Linked DNA regions of Homo sapiens: all the other regions are linked to region 3. The links are contacts of gene promoters, found by promoter capture Hi-C in blood cells and fetal thymus (Javierre and others, 2016). All regions are on one chromosome and are shown on one strand. The core of a region is centred on a gene start or on the middle of the fragment in contact, and the rest is flanking DNA. Distances in the headings are between cores, read along the strand shown. Region 1 overlaps CFAP418 (cilia and flagella associated protein 418). Region 2 overlaps CFAP418-AS1 (CFAP418 antisense RNA 1). Region 3 holds the start of CCNE2 (cyclin E2). Region 4 holds the start of VIRMA (vir like m6A methyltransferase associated). Region 5 holds the start of RAD54B (RAD54 homolog B).

Region 1 (2,847 bases), core at 193-2,692, 350 kb before region 3:
TCCCATCCATCCATCATCCAGCTTTGTCTTCCCACAATGTATATTTCACCTTTGCAAGATTTTAGCTACATCAGAGTACTCAAGGCTCCCATTCCCTCTGACTTTGTACAACCTCTTTACCTCTTGGGATGCCTTCCCACCATTTTATCTACCTAAACCCTACCTGTCCTTCAGAGTATAATTCATCACATGTCTTCCATGATTCTTTCACCACTCTCTCAACTGGAAGAAAACTCTTCCCTTCCTGTGTATTCACGGTGCTTTGGACCTATTATATACTGTAATATAAAACTGAAGCTCTTAGGTTGGTGTATGACTACCTCCCTCCTTGTGGCTGAGATAATGTCTTGCTCATATTTATATAATTTGTACATTCTTATACACTTACAGAATACCTACTATCTTTAAGGTGTTACAAGTTATAAAAATATATTTGAACTTTACATTGACATTTTCAAATAAAAATTTAAAGCTAAAAATTAATACAGTGTAATATTGCAGCACTTTTCAATAGCATAAAGAAAAGGGTAAGAGACTTTCCCCTACGCCTTTTTTGGCAGCCATTCTTGGGTAAATCTATGAGTATACCCTAATTTAATAGTTTTTAAACTTTTTCACATCAAGAACCACTTTGCAAATCTTATGAAAGCTTTGAATGCCCCTCATACACATACAATTCAAATATAAAAATACATGGAAAAATTATAACTTGAAAAATTTTACAGTTTCCAACCCAAATAAAGCCTAATGTACTCCCAAAATCTGAGGTTAGGAACCCATACTTTTAGGCTTAGCCCACTTTTTACCCCATAAGTGGAAAAGTTGGCTTTTAATTACAGGTTGACTTTCCCTTTTCTGACTTTTCTAAACCCTCTGCTATTTACTGTCTACTAGTTAATCTAATAAGTGGTTAATAATCCCCATATGTCACCAAGATGAAGCATGAATTTTTATAAAACTATCATAGGATAATAAAATGCATGTAACATCAAGGCAGTGGTGAACACAGGCATAAAGTAAACTATGGATAACCTAGTCGGTACTTGAGGAACTTGCAGCATCTCAGAGTTATCAAGAACACCAGTTGGTTTACCCTAGATCTGTGGCAGCCTGGTTTAAAAAATATATGTACTTTTAGATAAAACAGTGACAACTAGAGGATTTATTATACTATTAAAAATAAACAAGTAGTCATTATTTAAATCAGTAGAAAATACTGTCTCAGTTCTCAAGACACTTAGGAATATGTTTGGGAGATAAGAGAATGGAACAGCTAAAGAATAAGGCGGTCTCCACCATTAGGATATAAATCACTGATAGATTTATTTTGTACAATATATTGGTGTTTACCAGTAGACATTATTCAGCACCTAGTCTATGACACTCTTAGATACTGGGCTCATAAGATGAGAGGAACCCAGGGGAAGGGAGACATGGGTGGGGACAAGCATGTGAGCAGCAAGGTCATAGAGACAATAGGGTCAAGAGCACTGATGGGAGGTGAGCCTTGGATAGGAAAAGGAAGACCTCTGTGACTGAGAGGAAGCCAGCAAGGTACTGATGTGTTCAGGGTGAGCTTGCCAGGAAATTGAAGGCTTTCATACCTGGCGACCTGGTTTTGAGAATGAAGATGTGATCTGCTGAAAATAAGGGAGTGGAGGAGGATGTGGAATAATCACTGAGGAAACCAGAAGTGGACAGTGACCAAAGACAAGTTAAATGTTACACAGTGGAATGCTGTGCAGTTGTTTTATTGTCCTATTTTACAGATGAGAGAAATAAATGTATCCTATCTTTGAGAAGTTTTAGAACTTTTTTTTTTTTTCTGAGCCAATCTTGCAAACCCTGTTACCCAGGCTAGAGTGCAGGACTGCAGTTTCAGCTCACTGCAACCTCCACTTCCCAGATTGAAAGGATCCTTCGGCCTCAGCCTCTCGAGCAGCTAGGAATACAGGTGCGCACTACCACATCCAGCTAATTTTGTAGAGATGGGGTCTCACCATGTTGCCCATGCTGGTCTCGAACTCCTGAGCTCAAGTGGTCCACCCACCTTGGCTCCCCAAAGTGCAGGGATTACAGGCATGACCCACCACACCCAGACAAGTTTTAGAACATTGTAAAAGAAGTGTCAGCTATACTTACTGACCACCTTGCCACAACAGCTGAAGAAAATGCTTTTATTTTTCTATTAAATCGTGTTTTCTTTAAGAATGGAATGATTTTTCCCTAAGCTTTTAAGATACGTGCATTTTAAAAACCATTTCAAATGTCATAATTAGATCCCTGCCTATTCATGATTCCTAATCCTAAAATCGCTAAGGATTCAGTCAAGTATCAAATGTTAAGTTTTCAAAATATTTTGCAGATCAAATAAAGGACATTTTTCCTCAACAACTTAGTTTTGGCGGGGTTTTTTTCTTTCTGTTAAAATTTAGATTATTCATTTCTTCCCTTAGCTAAGTCGTTTAGCTAGTCAGTCTGTTTCCTGAAGTCAGACAGTTGGCTTGGAAAATCTGTCAGGTTTTGTGAGGTTCTAACCTTCTAAATTGTGCCTGAATTTCGTACAGTTTAATACTGAATATGGTGCCCATTGACCACCAGAGGGCACTTTGTAGCCTGCCTTCTGTTGCAGTGATATCCACAAGCAATGGTTAGGTACCGTATCTCTTTTTCTGGTATTCATACTGTATTTCGTCCTTTCACTTTGTATTTTTTCATCTTTTTTAAAAATTTTTTCTACTTTTCTTTGCCATGGAATGTTTATATGAACTCATTACATGGATTATCATGAAATCATAATTGATGTTTTTATTAATTAAACTTCTGTAGTCTTTTTTATAATAGTAT
Region 2 (2,700 bases), core at 128-2,627, 410 kb before region 3:
TCCAAGAGTCCCCAAGGACAAGGAGAAGGTGGTGCTTCCCCCTCCTAATGCCAAGAGGGCTCTTCAAGAGGGCAACTTGGAGAGTTTTCTGTTTGTTCCCTGGAGATTGTGGACTAAAACCTGACTCGTCCCTCTAGTGTTGAAGATGAAAAGCTGGCTGGAATGGCTACCCGGTAGCAAAGAGGCAGAATGAAGGGAACAGCCAGGCTTTCCAGCGTTGAGTGGGAAACAGACATCCACAGAGTTCTCACTAGGCAACTGGAAACCCCATGGAAGAGAACCAGACTCTGGTTATCTTAAATGGATCCCCTGGAGGGATAAGGTGACCCCAACAGAGAGACAGACTGCCAGGAGCCAGGGGCTGAGGGGAGAGCCACAGATGTCCAACTGCAGGAGTAACTGCCCACATTAAGCGAATTGCATGTAGAAAAATGCTAAGACCAGAGTCCCTGAAAACTCACTGCAAACTCCCTCTGCCCACCAAGAGTAAGCACTAACACTGCATCATCCAAGCCGCCTCAGTGGCAGGTTACTACTGTCCTGCCAAACAGGACTTTCCCAGCCCCTTCACCTTCCCTTTCACCTCCACCTCCATCCAGGGCAGCAGAGTGAGTGGTGCAGAAGTAGAACAAGTTAGGGAAAGAGGCCCCAGCCATGCCTTTCCCCAGTTCCACATAGGCTTCAGCCCAGAGAGCCTGCGCTGAGGAAAAGGAAAAGCTTGGCTTCACCCGAACTTTGCAACCACGGTGATTATTCATTTATTTATCATTAAAAGAGAAAGAGAAACCTAGGCTCAGATCCCAGAATACCACTGCAGTTTGGTAATGATGCTGGAATACATTTTGTGTATGCCTATAGGTGGATCAAAAAACAAAAGACAAACTCCTGAGACCCCATGAGACATCCAATTTAATCTTCTAGGAAATAGGACTTTGGAAGCATAACGACTAATATTTAAATGGCACTCTACAAACCACATTCGCATACATTAGTAGTACATTTAATTCCCATAATAATCCCCATTTCAAAGATGAGAGAAATCAAGGTTCAGAGAACTAACTTGCCCCAGGATCAAGCACACTAGTGAGGGAATTTGAACCTAACCTATCTGACTTCAGGCTACTGACTCTGAAAACCATTTGTAAAACTCAGTCTGTAGTTTTGTGGGAAATTTCTGAAAATTTCAATGGATAAAAAGTGTTAATGCCCCCCACCATGCCCCACAAAAATTCATGTATTGAAATCCTCAACCCCAAGGTGATGGTATTAGGAGGTGGATCTTTGAAAGGTGATGGTATTAGGAGGTGGATCTTTGAAAGGTGATTAGGTCCCTTATAATGGGATTATTGCCTTTATAAAAGAGTCCTAAGTGAGATCTCTTGTCCCTCCTGCCATGTGGAGTTACAGCAAGACCATCCATCCATGAACCAGGAAATGGGCCTCCACCAGACACCAAATCTGCCACTGCATTGATCTTGGACTTCTCAGTTTCCTGAGAAATAAGAAATTTCTGTCGTTTCTAAGCCACCCAGTCTATAGTAGTTTGTTACAGCAGCCTGAATAAACTAAGACACAAAGAATCTCATGTTTTATTTCCTAGCTACTAATCCATAAATGTAACCTACTGGTTAACTATTAGATGCCTAACCCACCAGCCAATAAATACCCCTTTAAAACTAGCCTAAAAATATTGATTTTCTTGTGCTTTCTTGAATACCCTAAAACACATTTTTCCTTGAGAAGCGGTCAGCTTCAACTATCTAAAGAGAACTAGAAGATCCCTTTTACCTGGTCAAGCTCTTGACCTCTAATCCTGCCCATCCAGTCTCTCGATAATTTCACTGCACAGGCATATGTGACATCCTGTGTGCCGCCTTTGTCCATAACCCACAACCCACAGTAGGCTGCGGTGGTTCCTCAAAGCTGAGACAGGGTACTTTCATTCTAACAAATCCCAGCACGTGCTCCCCTAACATGTCTGTTTTACTAATTTTACATTATATACAATTTTTCATTTTAACCTAAAACAAAGCTTTCAGTTTTTCTCAAATAGCATGGCAGGTTTCATTAAATCAGATTATTGCCCAGTTCCCCCTTCTCTTTCATCAAAAGAAGGGAAGATAGAAGCAGAAGAAAAGTAGAAACAGTCCAAGGCAGTAATATAGCAAAGTGAAAAAATGTAAAGGAAGTTTAACTCTCATCCCTCCTCCTAGAGATCCAAGGTCTCAGAGACAGAACAGCAGCTTTTCTTTTTGCACCTCACACATTGAGAGAGACTAGACTTCACTTCCTGGCAGCCCTTTCCATTCCCATTTCACAGCAACGGCTGTAGACACAGCATTTCTATCTTAGTTACACCAACCTTTTGAGTTCTGAGCAGAGCACTAAAGACTCACGATGTGTTTAAGGCCAAGGTCGCTTGGGGACCAAGATAGAGAACCCAGAAACATGTTTGGAACTTCAAAAATGCTGGGGAGGTTGGGAGGCCTAGGAAGTGGGGGTGCAGGATTCACTGCAGTTGCCTCCATCCCCACCCTTCCACCACTAGCCTTAGATAAGCAGACAAGGGTTCCAGTCCTGGCTTTGCCTGGGACCTTGGAATAGCTCTGGCCCGAGATAAGCCTGAGAAGGGCTAGAGTTTGGAATGGTGGGTTTGTCTGCTTCATAGGAGTCCTTAAACCTGGGCCCAGGCATTTTCCT
Region 3 (2,803 bases), core at 217-2,716:
GTCTCCCCGGCGCGGCCCGCTCGCCGTCCGGCTCGCTCAGGGCCTGGGCAGACGCGGCCCGCCCGAGCTACCGCGGGTTCCGAGACGCCTTCGCACTGCTCCTCCACCCGGGGGATCTTTGTTCCCGGAGCTGTTCCCCGCCTCGCTGCTCCCGCCGCAAAACCTGTTTGCGGAATACCCGCCGCAAGTCTGACTTGACGATGTGCAGTTTTGGGGTGCGCCAGTTGTGGGGGCATTCATAGAGGCAGCGAAGGGACCCCTAAGTTTAAACACCCGGGGAAGGATAAAGGAAGAGCGTCGGGCCCCCCTCCTCCCAACAGCGCTCGGGCGCGAACGGCGCCCTCCCGCGCTGCCGGCTCGCGCGGGCTCCGCAGGGCGCGCTGGCGGCGGCGGCGGGGCGGGGCGCGGCAGGCGGGCCCGGGGCCTGCACGTGGTGGCGATCTTTCTTCCCACCCGGCCAGGTCCCCGGGGACCACCGCGCTCAGGGGGAGGAGGAATGCCGTTCCCGGGCCCCGCTCCGGAGAGGGGTTTTACCCTCTGGGATCCCGGAATTGGAGGTGGAGAAGAGAGGAAGCAAGGGAGGGCGCGGCGTGGCGCGAGCGTTTCCTGCGCGGGGACTGCGGGGTGGCAGCTGGAGGCCACTGCAGGGGCAGAGCGGCGGGTTGGGGGAGCGACCGACCCATGGGGAGGGAAACCCGGTAGGGGGAGCAGGGAGCCGGAAAGCAGGGTTGATACATACCTGGGTGGGCGGGCTGGAAATGCCTTCCCTGGGCGCGCCGCGCAAGGCCGGCGGAGCGGGCTCCGGGTGGTCGCGGACCGGGACTGGGGAGAGCAGAGCCGCACTTGGCCAGGCGCGTGGCTGAGTGGTGTTTACATTCTGCAGCCACTCCACGTTGTGCTGCCGCCCGTGCCTCCCATTGGCCAGCTCTTCAGCCAACGCTTTGCTCCTCCCCGAGGGGCGGGCCCTCGGGTCCCCGCGTCGCTCAGGAAAGACCTGGGTTCCCTGAGGCCTTGGCGGGACAGCTAGGGCGCGCCCCTGGACGGTCACTTCCCAGCCACCCTATGGTCGCCCGAGTCGTGTCCCCCTGTTATGCGCCCGGGCTGAGCCGCAGGCTGACACCCCCGAAATCCAGGAGTTGCAGTGGGAGGAAGCAAAAGCAAACTGGCGGGAGATGCGCGAGCCAGGCGGCGGGGAGAACAGCCGCGGAGAAGGAGCCCCTGAGAGTTTCCCTACCGCCGCCGGCCGCGCCGTGGAGCGCGGTGGACGCGGGCAGAAGGCCCGGTAGAGTGGACCCCACGGCCGCTCCGGGTGGCGGGCGCGCACTGAGAGCAGGGCGCGGCGCGCGGGCACGCGGGCGGACGGGCGGGAGAGGGGAGCGCGCTGTCCGGAGGTGTCAGTCTGAGGCGCATGCGTGCGGGGCGGGACCGGCCCGGCCTATATATTGGGTTGGCGCCGGCGCCAGCTGAGCCGAGCGGTAGCTGGTCTGGCGGTGAGGAGTTGCTGCGCGTAGGGGGGATGTGGGAGGAAAGAAAGCCCAGTTGGGCCGATCACTTACCACAGGCGGGAGCCTCAGGGAGGAAAATCGGGAGGGCTGAGAACTAGACGACTGGGGGTCATGGGTTCCCGCGTTCCGTCCCTGTCAGGAACCTTGGCAGGGGACCGGGAAGCGGCTGGGCATGGAGAGCCGCCCCTCATTCTAGGGGCTTCTCTATCCCACCCTCATTTGGGGAGCTATCCCGTGGGAGAGAGGATGGGAGGCCGGGTCCCCTCCATGGGGAGAAAAGTTCCCAGCCAGCCCAGTCTCCCCTTTCTTTAGCTCCTTTTCCTGCCCTCCCCCACGCCCTCCGCTTCCCATCTGGAGTTGGGGTCCCGGCGCCCCTCCGAGCGGCGGTAGGGCGGCAGGGCCGGGAAGGAGGGAAAGGAGACTGGAGGCCGTGACACCAGTCTTGGTTCCTCCGCCCCCTGCTTCCCCGCCACCGCCGCTCTCCAAATTGGCGCGGAACCGGCTTCTCCACAGCATTTCGCCTCCACAACCCCCTCTCCCCGCTGGTCCAGGAGGGAGGCGGGACGTGGGGGCGCTGCCCAAGCCCCACTCCCGGTGTACGGGGGAGAGGGTGGAGGACCCAGAAAAACCCGTTTGAGGAAGATGTGCCTCCCTGCGCGTTCAAGGTGTCAGGAGTGCTTGGTAAATTTTTGGACACTCGCGTTCCAGCTGTACATTCAGTTGAGGAAATGCAGGCTTGTATCCAAAATGAATTACCATGAGCTAGCTAACATAGCACAGAAGATGGCAGGGTCACAGGGCCCAGGCCCCCTTCGGAGGGACTGAGCTTTCACCTGCGAATCAGCGTCTTACTGGCACTTGGAGAATGTGAATGACAATGTACTTGACTGCGGCTTTTCCTCTCCCCCCTTCAGAGGTTTTATACACCTGAAAGAAGAGAATGTCAAGACGAAGGTAACATTATCTGTCTTAGAGACATGTTTCAAATTAGTTGCTGCCTTTAACTTACTAATTACACTTCCTTTTTAAAAATTCACTACAGTAGCCGTTTACAAGCTAAGCAGCAGCCCCAGCCCAGCCAGACGGAATCCCCCCAAGAAGCCCAGATAATCCAGGCCAAGAAGAGGAAAACTACCCAGGTGATTTAAGGAGAAAGAGGGAGGAACGAAATTCCATGCTGGGACTTTAGTTTACCAATGGTCTTTTCTATTTTCCAGGATGTCAAAAAAAGAAGAGAGGAGGTCACCAAGAAACATCAGTATGAAATTAGGGTAATGCAGAACTGGGCTGGGTGGGTT
Region 4 (2,826 bases), core at 217-2,716, 340 kb after region 3:
AACCTAAATAACAAAACATTACCAAGGCATGTGAAGCCTTTCTGTTCTTCTCCATTACATCTCCTTCCAGTTTACCACTATCTTGAAATTTTAGTTACTCCAATACATGACTTTATAATTTCATGACATATGTACACTCCTAAAATTTTATATTCTTTTGCACGTTTTTAAATATATAGATGTTATTTTACACTATATATTTTTTATTTCCTTTTCTAAGAGATGGGTGTCCCCACTGGCCTCCAACTCCTGGGCTTAAGAGATTCTCCTGTCTCAGCTTCCCGAGAAGTTGGGACCACAGGAACACGCCACCGCACCCGGCTTGCGATGAGAGGAGTTAAACTTGTTTTGTTTTGGTTTGTGTCTTTTTTTTTTCTTTTTGTGAATAACGGGGTCTCGCTATATTGCCCAGGCAGTTCTCCAACTCCTGGGCTCAAGCGATCCTCCCGCTTCATCCTCCCTAAGTGCTGGATTACAGGCGTGAGCCAAAGCGCCCACCAACCCTGTTTTTTGGGTTTTTCATGCTAGTAAACATAGCACTGGTTCATTCTTCGTACCTGCTATATACTATTATATAAATACGCCACTATTTACTTATTACTTCTGTCAATGGCACTTATGTTTCCTGCTCTTTTGCAACTTATAAAGTTTGCTATGAATATTCTTGTATTTGTAGATACGTGGGCGAGAATTTTCCTAGAAGAGTGGTAGGCACGTGTAATTTTACAAGCTATTTCCTAGTTGCTCTGCTAAGGGTTTGTGCCATTTAGACTACCAAACCCGCTGAGTTTATCTCGTTGCTCCAAAGCTCATCAACACCCGACAGAGAGGCTTACTTTTCATTCTGCCTCCTGTTTTATTGTTCATGGTACTTCACGTTACACAATTCCTCGAATTTTATTTCAATTACTCCTCACAATCACCCTGTAGGTTAGGTACGATTTTTCACATTTTACAGATAAGAAAACAAAGAATCTCTTCGTTGGTTGAAACAACAGTTTTTCTTCTATTTAAATCAATGTCTTACTTTTCAACCTCGCTCACTGTTATCTTTTTGCTCCCAGCGCTGGAAAAAGTGGGACATCCCCTTCGGTGGGTGTACGGGGTTGGTATCCAAAGTTGGCAGCTTTCCCTCCCCCTCCTCCATCCACCGTCTCCAAAACCCCGTCTCCGCACTTCGCCACCCGGAGACCGCTGTAGCTCTGTAACGCGGAGGAACGACAGGGTTTGAACCACTGGAGACCCCGTAGTCCCCATCTCACTTCCCTCTGCCCCCCCTCTGCGTTCTAGGGGGCGCCCTCCGCCGCGCTGGAAAAGGCGGGGCCGGCAACTCCGGGCAACAAGATGCGTTGGGATAGGCCGAGGTTTGCGGCGCTAGTGCTCTGGTCACCGGAAGTCCCTCTGTTTCTCCCTCTCCTGAGTCGCTGTCGCGGAGGCTGGAGCGCTGCCCCGGAAGTCCTCCCCCCTGTTCCCCGCCCGCGGCAAACATGGCGGTGGACTCGGCGATGGAGCTGTTATTTTTAGATACTTTTAAACACCCGAGCGCTGAGGTAAGGCTTGGCGACTTGATTCTGACGCTGCTTCTTGACTTGGGATCTTTACAAAAAAACCGTTAGGCGTTCTCCACTTTTCCTTCTGCAGATTGCTTCTTTAATTTCTCGCTTACACACAGACACCCTCCCCCGAGCTGTGTGAGCATCGCGTCTGAGGGAGGGCTGCAGCAGCCCCTTCATTTCCTTGCTTTAACTTGGGCCCTCCGTGTCTTTGGTCGAGTTGGCTTTTCTGCTTGCATGGCTTTATTTTTTATTTTTCCTGTCAGGTTTGGGCCTTGAGAAGGATCAGGGTTCTCAGGTTTACCTCAGATGGCGTTTGGGAGGGGTCTTGGTTTGCCAGTAGTGTTTGACAGTAGTGCCGGAGTCTGAGCAGTTTACGTTGGCTTCGTGGTTTCCGAATCACGATGTTTCTAAATCCTTTCTCTTTGGCCTCTTTTCTGTCGGGAATTATGTTCCCCAGTTGTGACACTTACTTGGTTTAGGATTACGGTGCTCTCCGATTTGGCCTGAAACTTTAATACTTGTCTCTCGGAGAGATTTCACACATTAGGAATGAGATGCATTCACGGAGAATACTTGCGAAGAGGGGAGAGTTGAGAGAATTATAGTTAAACTCATCAGCAGACATCTCCTTTGAGGTTGGAGGTGGAATGTTGTGGAGTAATATTTCTGTACAAAACTACTTGAGCGCCCCTTAATGTACAATTGGCCCTGCAATATGTAGATTAAACATAGCTGGTTAACTAAAGATTCCTGAAAGCAGACCAAAAATGAACTTGAATGAAGTCTACGGAGAAATTGTTAAAAAAAAAAACGAACTTCACATTTTTCTGTCTTAATGTAAGCTTAATTTAGAGAACTGTTCTTTCTTTGGAGATTATTTTTTTCCTTTTATTTTTATCAAGTGTGCTCTTGTATCAAGCTTTTTGAGGACAGATATAATTTCTCTTTTTCTCAGCTGTATCTCCAGTGCCTAGGACAGTATTAGCAAAATGTAGGTGCTCAATAAATATTTGAATGGAAAATGTTTAAAATGTTCTTTCTTTTATGAGATAGTAATGATAGTGGGTAGTGATTGTATCATAATGCTTTACTTGGCAAAATAAAAAGTTGACAGCTGTGATCTAATTTAACGAATGGTTTATAGGTTTGTAAAAGTCAAAAGTTGGAGAACTTTGAGTTAGCATTTCTTACTGACAGTTAATTTATGGTCTGACATTTAATGTGGGTCAGTTAGCACTGTTTGTTCAATGACTATATCTAACATTCTAGC
Region 5 (2,700 bases), core at 96-2,595, 420 kb after region 3:
CCAGATGCAAATCTGCAAGAGGAATGTCCCAGGTCACCTTTAGCCAATCTGTTTTAGATTTTCTGAACTCCCCAGATGATATTAAGGTAGGCTGCAGACACTATGAAGCTAGCTTGTTTTCTGGTTACCCTTACTCTTTATGTGTCCCAGTCCAAAGAAGAGGGGGGTGCGGTTTACTAAGGTGCCCAACCTTGGCAGGTCCCCATTTCAAATTCTTGTAACGCTGGCTCCAGGAGCTGCCAAAAGCACAACTCAACCTATGAGGTGCTCTTTATGACTGGAAAAAGTCCCCAGGATAAAAGCTCCTTAAGCACATTACTCTTTTTTTTTGAAACAGGGTCTCTCTGCTGCCCAGGCTGGAGTGCTGCGGCACCATCTCGGTTCATTGCAGCCTTCACCTCCCAGGTTCAAGCGATTCTCCCGCCTTAGTCTGCTGAGTAGCTGGGATTACAGGCGCGCTCCACCAAAACCAGCTAATTTTTGTATTTTTAGTACAGACCGGGTTTCACCATGTTGGCCAGGCTGGTCTCGAACTCCTGACCTCAAGTGATCCGCCCGCCTCGGCCTCCCAAAGTACTGGGATTACAGGCACAAGCCACCGCTCTCAGCCTCAAATTACTCTTTTAAATGGCTGTACCTATTTACACTCCTACCAGCAGCCCAAGAGTTCCCATTGTTTCACATCTTCATTTCACCCTTGATATTTTTTAGCTTTTACTTTTTGTCAAACTGCTGGATAAAACTCAATAAACAACCTTTAGCCATTCTCTCTCCTTTCAGATTAGCCTTTCTAATACCATTTTTCAGGGATAGTTGACTGTGTTACCGCCTAGCACTTAGAAGGTGCTCAGTAAATACTCATTGAATGATGTAACTTTCCTACTTAACATGCTTTAATGCTTTTCCAAGTCCGGAGGCGGCTCCCCTTTTCTGAGAGCCTAATAATCACGTATTCGTTTCTATATTCCCAGAACCTAACAAAGAGTTTGAAAATTATCCTGCAGGCACCGCTAAGTCAATGTTTTTTCGGATGAATGAATAACCAATAGGATATCGTATACTTCTGCGATGCACGCATTTCTATTATCGCACACACCGAATCATACCGTATTTATTACTTATCCACGCAGATGGTGAGGTCTGTAGCCTCGGCATCTACACTGTGTCTGAAAGTAGGCACTAAACCAGTATTTTTTTAATTGAACCGTAAACTTGAATCAAACTTGGAAGCATTTAAAGCCAAACGCAAAGATACATGCGCAGTGATGCAGTAGGGTCGTCCAATCAGAGTAGGGCAGGACAGGGCAGTGCAGCGGCTAGGTAGTGCGCACGCGCGGCGGGCTCGTCCGCGATTGGCTTCGCCGAGGCGGGATCCTTGAGCTTCTCCGGCGGCGAGGGGATAGCTGGTTACCAGAAGGACTTCTTTGCAGGGCCAGTGGTTTCTGTCAGATTTTCGCCGGTGCGTCCTGCAGGGGGAAGCTCGGGAGGCTGCGACAGCCTGTAGGCTCGTGCGGGACAAAGCAGGGAGTGGCGCCGGAGCAGGCCAACGAGGGAGGAGGGAGGGAAGGCGGCAGGAGCGACCGAAGTGGCCTTCTGCGGGCCTGCAGCTTTGGTCTGAAGTGCCAGGGACGCCCTGGTTGCTGGCCCCGGGGGCCTTGGAGCGAAGGGCGGGCGGTGGGGGTTTAGGGTTGTGCGTTTGTGTGGGAGGGATGGTTCTGGGCAGTGGCCCCTGGGGCCGCCACTGCGGTCGCTTTGCGCAGGCTCCTCTTGGCTTTTGGGTCTCTCCCTCACTCCTGCACTGGGAATTTCCTTCCCCAGGGCCAGGGGGTGAAGGCTCTGCGAGCGTCCTGGAGAGTGTCGGTACGCCTTCTTTAGGGGCTTTTACCTCTTCACTGGTCAGGTTTTTCTTGTATTTCCTTAAAACCTTTTAATCGATTACCTTATGGAAGATTTTCTAGGTAGGAACAGATGCTTCTCGACTTACTACGGGGTTGAAAATATCCCAAATGGAAAATGGATTTAAAACACAGCTAACCTACTGAGTATTAAAGCTTGGCCTAGCCTACTTTTGTTATCAAAAAAATTATTTTCAGCTGTTTATTTTAGATTTGGGGGTACATGTGCAGGTTTGTTGCATCGGTATATTACGTGGTGCTGAGGTTTGGATACGATTGATCCTGTCACCCAGGTAGTGAGCATGTTACCCAATAGTTTTTGAACCCTTGCTCCTCCTTTCCTCTCCCTTCTAGTTGTCTCCACTGTCTATTGTTGCCATCTTTATGTTCATGAATGCCCAATGTTTAGCTCCCATTTATAAGTGAGAACATGCAATATTTGATTTTCTGTTTCTGCTTTAATTCGCTTTGGATAATAGCCTCCAGCTGCACCCATGTTGCTGCAAAGGACATGATTTCATTCCTTTTTATGGCTGCGCTAGCCTACCTTAAACATGCTCAGAACACTTACCTTAATCTACAGTTGGGCAAAATCATGAACACAGACGGTTGTGTGGTTACTTGTACAGTTTCTACTGAATGCTCATGGCTTTCTTAAAAGTCGAAGAATTCTAAGTGACACCGTCCTAAATTAGGAACCATCTATATAGCCGGAGTCTCAAAGGAGCAATTTAAGGCATGAAGTGAAATAATTACTACCTAATGTAGTTGGAAGTCGACAAGCAGCAACAGCAGGGAGAGACCG

What was found. Contacts are between HindIII fragments. The CHiCAGO score rates a contact against its expected background, and 5 or more counts as called.
Region 1: a fragment that was not itself captured here is called in contact with the fragment with the promoter of CCNE2 in region 3 in 7 of 17 cell types (fetal thymus, total B cells, total CD8 T cells and 4 more); the score reaches 9.2 in fetal thymus.
Region 2: a contact is called between a fragment that was not itself captured here and the fragment with the promoter of CCNE2 in region 3, in 1 of 17 cell types (total B cells). The highest score is 7.1, in total B cells.
Region 4: a contact is called between the fragment with the promoter of VIRMA here and the fragment with the promoter of CCNE2 in region 3, in 12 of 17 cell types (fetal thymus, neutrophils, monocytes and 9 more). The highest score is 14.7, in fetal thymus.
Region 5: the fragment with the promoter of RAD54B here is called in contact with the fragment with the promoter of CCNE2 in region 3 in 14 of 17 cell types (fetal thymus, naive CD8 T cells, total CD8 T cells and 11 more); the score reaches 20.8 in fetal thymus.

What each region holds. Positions count from the first base shown.
Region 1 is chr8:95,248,635-95,251,481 of GRCh38, reverse strand. All of the region lies in intron 5 of CFAP418 (cilia and flagella associated protein 418), which reads left to right. Among named protein-coding and RNA genes, the nearest start is that of CFAP418-AS1, 19 kb to the left of the region's middle. The HindIII fragment of the contact is 1,582 bases long and covers 652-2,233 here.
Region 2 is chr8:95,301,935-95,304,634 of GRCh38, reverse strand. All of the region lies in intron 1 of CFAP418-AS1 (CFAP418 antisense RNA 1), which reads right to left. Among named protein-coding and RNA genes, the nearest start is that of TRS-AGA2-5, 34 kb to the right of the region's middle. The HindIII fragment of the contact is 1,315 bases long and covers 720-2,034 here.
Region 3 is chr8:94,893,864-94,896,666 of GRCh38, reverse strand. It overlaps CCNE2 (cyclin E2), which reads left to right and starts at 1,466. Exons shown (of 12, transcript NM_057749.3): 1 at 1,466-1,490; 2 at 2,420-2,459; 3 at 2,548-2,644; 4 at 2,723-2,776. The coding sequence starts at 2,446. It also overlaps a transcript of NDUFAF6 not described here. RefSeq lists silencers at 1-96, 377-426, 597-646, 777-876, 1,257-1,476 and an enhancer at 2,093-2,654. The HindIII fragment of the contact is 5,265 bases long and covers 1-2,803 here.
Region 4 is chr8:94,552,109-94,554,934 of GRCh38, reverse strand. It overlaps VIRMA (vir like m6A methyltransferase associated), which reads left to right and starts at 1,466. Exons shown (of 24, transcript NM_015496.5): 1 at 1,466-1,550. The coding sequence starts at 1,488. It overlaps VIRMA-DT (VIRMA divergent transcript), which reads right to left and starts at 1,222. Exons shown (of 2, transcript NR_183271.1): 1 at 1,028-1,222. RefSeq lists an enhancer at 1,153-1,772. The HindIII fragment of the contact is 4,366 bases long and covers 1-2,400 here.
Region 5 is chr8:94,473,760-94,476,459 of GRCh38, reverse strand. RAD54B (RAD54 homolog B) reads left to right here and starts at 1,345. Exons shown (of 15, transcript NM_012415.3): 1 at 1,345-1,459. RefSeq lists an enhancer at 1,383-1,612. The HindIII fragment of the contact is 4,488 bases long and covers 1-2,053 here.